Regions from separate parts of the Homo sapiens genome. Here regions 2 and 3 are each linked to region 1. The links are contacts of gene promoters, found by promoter capture Hi-C in blood cells and fetal thymus (Javierre and others, 2016). All regions are on one chromosome and are shown on one strand. Each heading gives the region's core, a stretch centred on a gene start or on the middle of the fragment in contact. The rest is flanking DNA. Distances are from core to core; before and after follow the strand shown.

Region 1 (4,276 bases), core at 1-2,500:
AGATGATATGATTTTTATTTTTTAGGTATGTCTTCAAAAAATCAATTATAAACCATTAACAACATTATTAAAACACACAGGTACCTGCCAGGACTATGATGTAGAGTACACCAGACCGTTCTTAAGAATCCAGCCAACACAAAACAGTCCAGAAAATCCCTTACCATGAGCTTTGAGCTCTCAGTGAGGAGATACGTTAATCCTTCCACACCATGCTGGACAGTGTCACTACTCACATTGAGTTTTCCTGAGAAAGAAAAGTAAAAACGAGCAAATAAATTACTACTGTAGTATTTATCTTGTTCATATTTGTATTTAAAAATAAACACTATTCATTATTACATGTTTTCAAACACTGCATGAAAAACAGTAAGTTGGCCAGAGGCTCCTGCTCCTTGTCATTCCACTCCCAGCCAAATGCCTTTGGTATTTCCCACCAAGTAACCTTAACAAAATGCAGAACTGTGGAGACTAGTATCAGGTGCGTAGCCCTTCTCTTGAATACGTAGCTCCTTCAAGTCTGGCAGAAGAGGAACTCGACAGGGATTGACTTAATCCCAGAGACTGCCTCTTACCCAGGGGTAAAACAACACTTTTTTTTTTTTTTTTAGCAAAAGCGGATATCTGAACAACTAATAATGATAACCAAATACTTGCAATTTACAGTTGACCCAGCTATTCCACAGACTTTGGTATATTTATACAAAACACTTTTCAGTATTTCTGAAAGTAAGGTGGTATTATGTACATTTTACCATGAGAAAACTGATTTAATAGAAGCTTTAACAATCTCACAGCTACTTAAGGGACGGGCAGGATTTGCACCCTGACTGAAGAGCTCTGCTGGTTTTATTCTACTACAATCGGAACAAGACCCTAGGACTCGCAATAATCCGTTTCTCTCCCGGGAGACAGGGAATGGCTCGCAACCGCCCTAGAAGCCTGCGGAGCCTTCCCCTTTCCCTTCTTACTGGCGGCGCCTTCGTAGATTTTTGGGTTTGCGCCGCGTCTCAGGAATTCCACAGCAATCCGCCCAAACTCGGCGACCACTGCAATGAAAGTCAGAAGGCTGTTGAGTGCCAGGCGCTGCCTTTGACCTCCTCCCCAGCCCACAGAACACCGCCCCCACGCCCGCTGACCCGCGCTGTCCACTTGAGGCAGGAAGGCCAGGTGTTCCTTATGCTCCTCGGACAATTCCAGCAGCATCTTCACTGTCCTACGATTTCACCCGGCAGCGCCGACCCCGCCTTCGCCACTTCCGGCGCCCGTGTCCCGGCGCCTAGAGGCTCCGGCGTCGCAGCGTCCGGAGCTTTGGGTTCCGGCCTACGAACTAACGCGTTACACTCGGACGTTCCCTGCAGCGCAGGCTGAGGTCAGAACATTGAAATCATCCCGCAAAGATGCAGTGAGCGCCTGCTGGGTGCAAGGTGCTAGGCTCTATGGGAGATGAAAAGGTGTTTCAAATCCGACACGCCCCCTCGTGGAGCATACATTAATAATATCAATAGTTCACATTTGTTAAGCACTAACCGTGTCAGGAAGTGTTCTTACATTTATTAAATACATTTGGAGTTCAGAAGAACCCTATGAGGTAGGTTCCATTATAATTTCCATTAGAGATAAGGAAACTGATAGACAAGTCCAGCAACTGACACTTTTATAAAGCTAATAGTTTCCAGAGCTTCTATGTTATCTTAAATGTATCTCAGTTAATATCCTCAACAAACATGGCTTTGTTTTTACAGATAAGACACAAAGCTCCAGAGATTATGTGACAAAGCCTGTGACAGAGTTAGATGGAGAGGGTTGGATCCCTCACTTACCTGCTGCAAAGCCCATCCTTCTACATAACAGCCTGAAAGCTGAAAGCTTCTGACAAGTTTTATGAGTGATTATAAATTAGGATAAAGATAATGATGACAATGACCGATGCTTACAGGATTCAGAGCAATGTTTTTGTTTGTTTGTTTTGTTTTGTTTTGTTTTTTACATGGAGTCTCGCTCTGTCGCCCGGCTCACTGCAACCTCTGCCTCCCGGGTTCAAGCGATTCTCCTGCCTCAGCCTCCCGAGTAGCTGGTATTACAAGCGCCCACCACCATGCCTGGCTAATGTTTGTATTTTTAGTAGAGACGGGTTTTCACCATGTTGGCCAGGCTGGTCTTGAACTCCTGACCTCAAGTCATCCAGCCAACTTGGCCTCCCAAAGTGCTGGGATTACAAGCATGAACCACCACACCTGGCCCAGAGCAATGCCTTTTAAAAAGTATTTAGCGCCTGTGATAATTTAGTTCCTTTTCCAACTCTCTTCTCACCTGCTGTGGTTCAAATATCAGAGATGATAAAGTTGCTAATTGATAGGAATATGATTCTTCAAATCTTAACCCCTTGAAAATGGAGGGTGTGGAGGAAGAGAGGGGAAGGGAAGAAGACTCTTCATATCTGTCTTTTCTATCTAAGGCTTGAGACAACTCTATATTCTGAGTCTCCCAGGCAGACTAAAAATTGGAAGAGTTTTTCAATTCACTTCTCTGTGTCTACTTTGTCCTTCACATCTGACTGAAATTGTTTCTTCCACTGGGACACAGAAAGACAGGTCCTTGAACTTATTAGTTAGTTCTTGAAGTAGCATTTGCAGAGAGAACACAACTTTTACTTAGACTGTGAATTGCAGATTAGCAAAAATTGCATCATTTCCTGAAGTTGCCTTTATTCACACATTATTGAGAAAACATCCATTATTAAAGAATAATTTTCAGAAAAGGTAAAATCATGATTCTTCTACAAGTGTACAATGAACACATGTCAAAAAATGTATTGAACTAGTTAATTAATGAGAGAATTACAGCATTCTGTAATTAATGAGAGATTACAGTAAAAACCAGTTTCAACTGATTCAAAAGAGGTATTCAAGAACTGTACATATATAGGGAGTAGGAATGCTGAAATGAATTTGCAAATAGACACAATATTATGCCAATATGAAATGGCCTTTCTTGTCTGTAATCTCAGGGAATGAAGTGAGGACAGGCGAGGTGAAGGTGAGACTAGGGAGTAGCACAATAGGCTGTCTAAAAAAGGTGGTCAAGGAACCAAGTTAGGCCAGGTATGGTGGCTGATGCCTGTAAACCCAGCACTTTGGAAGGCCAAGGCGGGAGGATCACTTGAGGCCAGAAATTCAAGTCTAGCCTGACCAACATGGTAAAACCCCATCTCTACTAAAAATACAAAAATTAGCAAAGCTTGGTGGCATGTACCTGTGGTCCCAGCTACTTGGTAGCCCAAGGCATGAAAATTGCTTGAACCTGCGAGGCAGAGGTTGCAGTGAGCAAGATTTGAGTCACTGCACTCCAGCCTGGGTGACAGAGTCAGACACTGTCAAAAAAAAAAAAAAGAAAGAAACCAAGTTATATCCAAGAAAAACCAGCCTGGGAGTTAAAACACCCCAGGATAATTTATAGAGTGACTTCTGTTGCCATAAGTGATATAATTGTTTAGAAAAAATTACCTGAGTGAAAATTCAAAACTCTAGATTCCAGATCTGGCTCTGACACTACCTGTATGACTTCTAATAAGTTGTTTTTATGTTATAACCATAGCCTCTTCGTCTGTAAAACTGGCATTTTAATACTGCCCTTCTGTGCCATGCAGGGCTGTTATGATGCTCAGATGAACTAATAAATTCACATTAAAAATTGATTTTGATGATCAAATGAAACAATAAATTAGAATTAAGCAAACAGCAGCATTTACATTTTATAGGAGCAGATTTTATGCTCCTATAAATTCACAAATAATCATCTTAAAAGCCATTCATTTAATTTAACAAACTTTATTAAGCAATTCCTTAAAGGTTCAAAGATATGCTATGCTTTGGCAATTTGTAGATGAATAAAACAATGTCCTTGCCCTCTAGGAGGTGTCAGAAAAGTGAGGGAGAAAGATAATGAAGTAATTTCCATACAGTGTGATGAGTAGCAATACTTGGAGAATGAACAAAATGAGAAGGAAGCATAGGGAATGTACATTAACTCTAATTTAAAAGAATCAGGCTGAGAATAAATGTCCCAGCATATCCTGTGCATGTTAATACTAATGCTCTACAATTAGATTTACATTATAAATATATACAGTCTTAATGTCACTTCATGCTATCTTACTTCCAGGGTGAATGTGAACAAATAATAAATACTCAGTATTTTTTTCAATTGATGCTGGTAGAGAACAAGGCTTCATATCAATCATCCCCTCACATTCTCTCTGCATCTTTCTATCCCC
Region 2 (3,687 bases), core at 604-3,103, 610 kb before region 1:
ATCCTCTGACTTATCTCCTTCTTTACCCGCAAAATTCTAAAGATTAAAAATGTATATTTTCTAAACCTCCACTAAAATAGAAGAAAATATAGGAGCATATTTATGTAATTTGGAGGACATGGATGGGAACTCAGAAGGCAAGGAGGAAAAGATACATATAGTATACTCTAAATAAAAAGGGTATGGTAAAACATGCCATCAGCAAAGTCAAAATCAGAAAATAGACTCTAAAACCATTTACTATTTATAGACGACAAAAGGTTTATATCCCTTTTAAGTAGAGAGCTACAGTGTCATGATAAGAAAAACAAATGAACAACTTAATAAAAATTGGACATCATGCAGAAGAGAAACTATACATGGCTGATAAACGTAGGAAAAGATGGCCAGCTTTATAAAAAGGTCTAGGAAATGTAAATTATAATAGCCGTGAGAGTCCATGTTTCTCTCATTGTGTAGAGTCAGTGCTAGTGAGGATGTGGGGAAACAGGTGTGTTTAAGCACTGCTGCTGGTAACATGAATTTCTATTATCTAATTGATAGTAATTGGGCAATATTGAAATTTAAAATGCCCATGCCCTTTGGCCCAACATATCTCACTTTTGGGAATCTGTACCGTTAAAATAAATCCCCCAGTAAATAAATATATAGATATAAGCCTATGTATTACTATGAAACATAGTGGCAAAAAACCCTGGAAATATATTTGAATGCTTATCAGTAAGGGAATTATTGAATAAATTATGCGTATGTATGTACATATGGGATGTTGAACATATTGAAAAGGATGTTAGATATCCATGTATCAGCCTGGAGGGAGAGATTTATTAATAATTTTTAAAAGTTGCAGATTGTTAAATATATTTAATATGATTACATTTTAGTTTTTGTTCATTTTTAAAAAAGACAGAATACCTCTCTGTGATCTCTGTTTATATGAGAGAAAGGTGTTGAAAGGCACATACCAGGCTGTGTGTTAACATTGGGTCCTCAAGGGGGAGATCATTATGCTTTTCATTTTGCATCTCTTTACCACGTTACCATTTTGACTTCCCACAACCAATATATGTTTATAAGTTAAAACTTATACAATCAACAATTTAGAGAAAATTAACTTGGATCTGTATTTTCTTTGCTATTTCCAACTTTATCCTGTTTCTCAGACTTGTGACTTGTGGGAAGGAGAGGGTTTGAAATGTAAATTCTGCTAATCTGAGAATTCCTTAATGTATACCTAATTTTGGTGTCACCCTAATAGTGAATTCTGTGTCAGTAGAGCTTTGTTAGAACTGCAGATTTAGAGCTACAGTAAACACTTAATTTTACATTTTATTCCTTATATGAACTTTCTGTATGTTACATGGGCAATTAATAGGTTGTCTTAAGACACTCAGATGGGAGAGATTGCATTTCAGAACCTCAAAGCCTAATGTCAGTCAAAAATACACCTAAGATTTTGTTACTTAGGGTTTTATTCTATTCAGTCTTTAATTCGACCATTTGTGTTAGAATTCATTAATAGTACTCATGTCAGCAAGGGAGGTGGTTGTATTTCTAATTACAAATTCTCAGTATAATCTTCATTCCTTCTCAGGAGATTATTTGGTAGCAATTGAAGAGAAAAACAAAGCTACATTTCTACGTGCTTATGTGAACTGGAGAAATAAAAGGACTGAAAACTCTCGTGTGTGTATCCGAATGATTGGGCATAATGTGGAGGGACCATTCAGCAAAGCCTTCAGAGACCAGATGTACATTATTGAAATGCCGCTTTCGGAGGCCCCCTTGTGCATTTCCTGTTGCCCTGTGAAAGGAGACCTTCTCGTTGGCTGCACAAATAAATTAGTCTTATTTAGTTTGAAGTACCAGATCATTAATGAGGAATTCTCACTATTGGACTTTGAACGTTCTTTAATTATACACATAGATAATATCACTCCTGTTGAGGTTTCTTTTTGTGTTGGATATGTTGCTGTCATGTCAGACTTAGAAGTCTTAATCGTAAAACTGGAGTCAGGCCCTAAAAATGGAGAGAGAGTTCACCACCATCCACATAAGACCAACAATCGAATAAGACGGACAGAAGAAGGTAAATAATGAATTTGACTTGCTTTCTTGTTTTAGGAATATAGAAAACCTTCACCTTTGGCAGTCTGAAGGTCTGTGGTATATATGGTGCCCGGCCATGTTATTTATAGATTTAGTTATTCCTATTTCATGGGATTTGGTTTTATGATCTGGCTGTCCATAGCTTACTCTGTAGCATGTGAATATATTTATCAGTAGAAGTAATGGAACAACCACTGCTAGATGAGGGGCTTCTAGTCCTAGTCCTCATAGTTACTAGTTGAATGACCTTGGGTTAATAATACCATCTCTGAGTTTCAACATCCTCATTTGTAAAATGGGGATGATAATACCTACCCTGTTGTACTTTATCAGTTGTGGAGATTAAATGAGCAAGTGCTAAGTCTTTTCACAACCACAGTGCCTTGTAAATGTGTGCATATTATAAATAAATGAAATTACTATATGTCTAATTGGTGAGAGGATGTTGTAAAATCTAATTTTCATTCAAGCAGGACTGTTACATTTTATTTTTTTAAGGCATCAGTAATGAAATTTCACAGCTTGAGTCAGATGATTTTGTCATCTGCCAGAAGCCCCTGGAACTTCTTGGTGAAAAAAGTGAACAGTCTGGATTATCTGTTACACTGGAGTCTACGGGATTAGCTGATGAAAAAAGAAAATATTCCCACTTTCAGCACCTGCTCTATAGGTATTATAGTGCTTTTTTTTTTTTTACCAGCATTTTATGTATATATGCCTGCTTAAAGTACATGGAAGTTATATTTTTCCCTTTCTCTGTCTTTTTAAACCCACAGACGTTTTGCTCCTGATATTTCGTCCTATGTCTTGTCTGATGACATCAAGCTACATTCCCTCCAGCTGCTACCCATTTACCAGACCGGTAAGCATGACAGTGCAGGAGTGCGACAGTGCAGCAAGGTGAAAATGCTCTGTCTGGGCTGGGAGTGAAGACCCATGTGGGTAATAGGTTTGGTGGTTTGGTTCTTCCACTGGAGTCTCCTTGTGGCCCTTTAACAAAGTTTTTTTTTTTGTTTTTTTTTTTTTTTTTTTTTGAGACTGAGTCTCGCTTTATTGCCAGTCTGGAGTGCAGTGGTGCGATCTCGGCTCACTGCAACTTCTACTTCCTGGGTTCAAGTGATTCTCCTGCCTCAGCCTCCCGAGTAGCTGGGACTACAGGCGCCCGCCACCAAGCCCGGCTAAATTTTTTTGTATTTTTAGCAGAGACGGGGTTTCACCATGTTGGGCAGGATGGTCTCGATCTCCTGACTTTGTGATCTGCCTGTGTTGGCCTCCCAAAGTGCTAGGATTACAGGCATGAGCCACCACACCCGACCTCTATTTTATTATTATTTATTATTTTTTTTCTTGAGACAGAGTTTTGCTCTTGTTGTCCAGGCTGGAGTGCAATGGTATGATCTTGGCTCACTGCAACCTCCACCTCCCGGGTTCAAGTGATTCTCCTGCCTCAGACTCCCGAGTAGCTGGGATTACAGGAATGCCCCACCACGCCCAGCTAATTTTGTATTTTTAGTAGAGATGGGGTTTCTCCATGTTGGTCAGGCTGGTCTCGAACTCCCGACCTCATTGATCCGCCCA
Region 3 (3,960 bases), core at 778-3,277, 750 kb before region 1:
TACTGGAAGTTAAAACATTTCAAATTATACATAAAGCTGAGATTGGGTTTTCATTGTTGCTATTCACAGAAATTGAATTATTTTTAGTTATTTGGCTGAGGATTTGGGAATTGTGGCTATATATGAAATGTAATTGAAAATAATAGGGAAGTTTAAGTCTCAGTTTTATTTCACTATTTAGCTTGTTTATGCTGTAAGCTAATAGTTCTCAAAACAAGGGTGATTATGTCCCCCAAAGGACATTTGGCAATGTCTGGAGACATTTTTGGTTGTTACAACTGAAGGGGGAGGGTGCAAAGGGCATCTGATGAGTGGAGGTCCAGGATGCTAAACATCCTACAATGCACAAGACGATTTCTTCCAACAAAGAATTACCTAGCCCAGCATGTCAGTAGTGCTGAGGTTGCGAAACTCTGCTCTCTACATGCTCTAAAACAGAGCAGGAGTATCTGAACCATAATGTATGGCAGCATCTAACAAGAAGTGAAGTCTTGTTTTAAGCAACCTTAAAATAAGAAAATAATAATGTGTTAAATGTTCACCGTGGTCAAGGCCGAATGAAACTTCTTCGCTTTACTGACATGTTTTTAGCTCCTGCTATTTTCCTTTCATAGAAGGAATGAAAGCTGTATTAGCCTTTAAGTTCAAAAGATGTATTCCTTATTTCTACTGCTTATACTGAAAGTTACCTTTGCATAAAAGAGGAGAGTGTTTTTAGCAGAAGTCCACTGTTTGTCTTAACCTTCTCGTCAGAGTGTAGCTTTCTTCACCTCCTCTCCTAATTTGAAGGAAGTAAGTGTAATCCTGCCAGAAATTCGGTGTAACTCTTTTCAGCTTTAGTAAGTGAATCACATTCTAAAGTATATCTTGTGGCCTGCCAACTGCCTGAAATCCACATGATTTTAATCATGTAAAGAGAATCCAATTTCTAACCTAGAAAACGATTAGATGTTATTGAGAGGTAAGACTTTGATTACCAAACAGTAGTGTGCCGTGGTAAATTATCTAGGTTATAATTTGAGAATATGAAACTAACTAACCTATTCTTTGTTAAGAAGCTTGGATGCGTGCAGAGTGCTCGACTAGGAAGCACTTCCTGCTTTTTCAGCCAGAATCTGAAACCACCGTGAGATTCTGTCTGTGCCTCTAGCACATTTCATTATTCAGCAGCAGGTTTCCAGGTGCTGGCCATCCTCTGAGGTATTCCATTTACTGGCTCATTGGTGGTGAAGGACTGAATCTTCTCTGTTAATAGAAATTGAAAGAGGTAAAAAGTCATCTATGCAGCTGAGAACTTATGGTTCTCAATATGTTGTTTAAATTCAGCAGAAGAATGAATTAGCAGTTCTCGAATCAAAGGTTGTGTTCACTTGAAATATGTGTTAAGCTTTACTTAGCAAAGAAAGCTCACTCTATACCTTGGGAGGCTGCTTCTCTCTGGAGGGGTTTACTATCCACTTGAATCAATGTGTGAACTGTGTGACATAAAGATGTGTTGGACTTATGCTTGATAGCAATAAAATATTTCTTTATGGACAATGACTTTGTCTAATGGCAGTAACCTTTGCCTCTGGTTTTCAATATGTTATTATATAAAAATTATAAATATAGTAAAAGTAAATAGTCTTAAATATAAAAATTAAGAATTATATAAAAATAATTTTGGTTAGGTGTTGTGCTGTAGGCACTGATGAACATTTTCAGGTGTTCCTTTCACAGTTACCCACATTTTCTCACAACCATAGTTTCTCCCTCCACCACCCCCATAGTCAGTTTTAAGTCCCGGAATTTTCAGCTCAGACCAGTTTTACAGATGACTGTATCTCAGTGTGAATATCTCGCAGGTCATGTTTTTAACCTCTTTCCTGTGTTCATCAGAAACTGGTGGGGCCTGATGTCCACTGACAAGCCACACAGGCTGTTGATGGCTGAGCATTTGCAGCTGCTTTTGCAACCCTTCTCATGCAAAAGAATGTGGCTGTCATTCTTCTAATCACCAGCCCTCTATTCACAGCCTCTCCACCTCTCTATTCTGTGACTCTGGCCAAGAGAATAATCCTAATATGGCAAACCATACGAGGTACCTGGACTTCTCTTTCTTCCTAAAATTCTATAATGTTAGATTTTAGAACTGGTGACTACATAACCGAATTCATGGCTGGTGTCTAATTTTCCATAATGAAGAGTCAAACTTCTATACTGTTGTATTTTCAAACTGTCTTGGCACTTACTTCATCACTGTAATTACATATTTCCCGAAAAGTTGAACAATAGCTGTTGTGAAATAGTTCTACACTAGTATTGTATAGGATGTGACAAGATAAGGTTAGCTTCTGGGCATGTTAGCACTAAGAGGGGAAGAGAGAGCTCATTATATTGTAGGTTCTAATCAGCAGTTTTGCTTCTGCCACATCGGTGAAATGAGGCTGATGAACTTGACTCTGAAGAAATCAACCTGAATGCAAGTTGAGGTTTATTTTCTTTTCCCCTGTGACTAATATATCTTAAGAGTGCTTGTATAGTTGAAGAGTTAAGTGCTTAAAAATTGTCTATTTTGTCTGTATGTGTTAGTTTCAAAAACCTAAGTCAGAGGAATTCATATTTTGTAATTTGGAATATCCTTAAAAAACATCTTATACTCATTTTGATTACTGCAGTGTAAATATCCTAAGCTTTTGATTGGTGTACTGGAATTTTGGTCTGTAGTTGAATTTCTAGAAAGAAGAAAACATAGGAGAGAATAAATTAGTAGCAGAATATTAGGTATGATTTATTTAAGTAGAGTCCAGGATCCGCTTTGAGGTCACTATATTTGTGTGTTCCAAATTCTAAGTGGTCATTGAGTCCCATAAGCAGAGTACAGTAATGTTTTAAAATAATGTTTAACAGAAATGATTTGGTGCTACATTGTATTAAAGTGTAAAATTGACCCCAGAGCTAGATTTTAAAATCTTTGTAGTTAATTAGGCTTCATGTTGGACCTGCCCAAAAAAAGAATGAAGGACTGAGATATTTCAAGATGGTACTTGTCCAAACCAAATGAGCTGAGAGATTTTGGTGTGCTTCACTTGGTTCCCTGACTTGATAGGTCAGCCCGGACAGTTATCTTCCCATGGTGACTTCCCCCAGCCACCCAAGCACTAGGCTGCCTGTTCTAGTAATTTATCAGTTGTTTTGGAAATGACTGTGTTCTCTTGCATTTGTGTCATTTTATTGATAGTTTGGATAATAAGTATCTTGAGGAAAAGCAAAAGCCATATCATGTAATGGCAAAATTAATGAGCACACGTAAGTTTTTTTAAGAGCTATTGTTATGTCACTGTACCCGTGAATATACTTTTTTAACTTAGCCACCTGTCTCCAGCTTTGTAACTGTCAGAGATCATGAACCCTGTGAGAAATAGAGGAGGAGGAAGGGACTAATGTGTTATATGTATGCAGGCTTGTATGCTGGTCATTTTACCTACTTTTTCACTTATTTCTCAACAGTCCTGTGAGGTAGGCATTCATACATCCATTCATATAACAAATATTAATTGAGAGCCTGCTATCTAGCTAGCACTGGGGACCTGCCATTGGTACAGTTCAGGGCAGCAGCTTGCCTGATGTCTCTGAGCTAGGCAAAGTCAGGTCTGAACCAGGGTCCTTCTCAACTCTGGTTGGGTTATGTGTTGTGGTGGGGTGGGTGGTGGTGGTGGGTGGTTTTTCCATTCCCAATTCTCTCATATGGCAGCATTCTTGAGTATGTATCCTGAGAATAATACGGGATGGAGGAAGATCCCTATTACCTTGGCTTTATGACAGATGAATTAAGTAATTTCTCTGAGTAGACAGAGCAGCTGGTATATTCCTCATTTTACAAATGAAGGAATGGAGGCTCAAGTCTTCTATCTCTATTGCTACTGTTCCTCCCCTCTGATCCAAAATACCTAAAAATACTTTGTCGTTTAAAATCAGCAG

What was found. Contacts are between HindIII fragments. The CHiCAGO score rates a contact against its expected background, and 5 or more counts as called.
Region 2: a fragment that was not itself captured here is called in contact with the fragment with the promoter of COMMD2 in region 1 in 2 of 17 cell types (naive CD8 T cells and naive CD4 T cells); the score reaches 6.3 in naive CD8 T cells.
Region 3: a contact is called between a fragment that was not itself captured here and the fragment with the promoter of COMMD2 in region 1, in 6 of 17 cell types (naive CD4 T cells, activated CD4 T cells, naive CD8 T cells and 3 more). The highest score is 9.9, in naive CD4 T cells.

What each region holds. Positions count from the first base shown.
Region 1 is chr3:149,751,239-149,755,514 of GRCh38, forward strand. It overlaps COMMD2 (COMM domain containing 2), which reads right to left and starts at 1,251. Exons shown (of 5, transcript NM_016094.4): 1 at 1,140-1,251; 2 at 972-1,049; 3 at 165-247. The coding sequence starts at 1,206. RefSeq lists a silencer at 1,407-1,476. The HindIII fragment of the contact is 1,089 bases long and covers 779-1,867 here.
Region 2 is chr3:149,138,410-149,142,096 of GRCh38, forward strand. It overlaps HPS3 (HPS3 biogenesis of lysosomal organelles complex 2 subunit 1), which reads left to right. Exons shown (of 17, transcript NM_032383.5): 2 at 1,595-2,089; 3 at 2,608-2,779; 4 at 2,886-2,971. Among named protein-coding and RNA genes, the nearest start is that of HPS3, 11 kb to the left of the region's middle. The HindIII fragment of the contact is 4,138 bases long and covers 1-3,687 here.
Region 3 is chr3:148,998,096-149,002,055 of GRCh38, forward strand. The region is part of intron 4 of GYG1 (glycogenin 1); the gene reads left to right. Among named protein-coding and RNA genes, the nearest start is that of GYG1, 8.5 kb to the left of the region's middle. The HindIII fragment of the contact is 1,285 bases long and covers 1,386-2,670 here.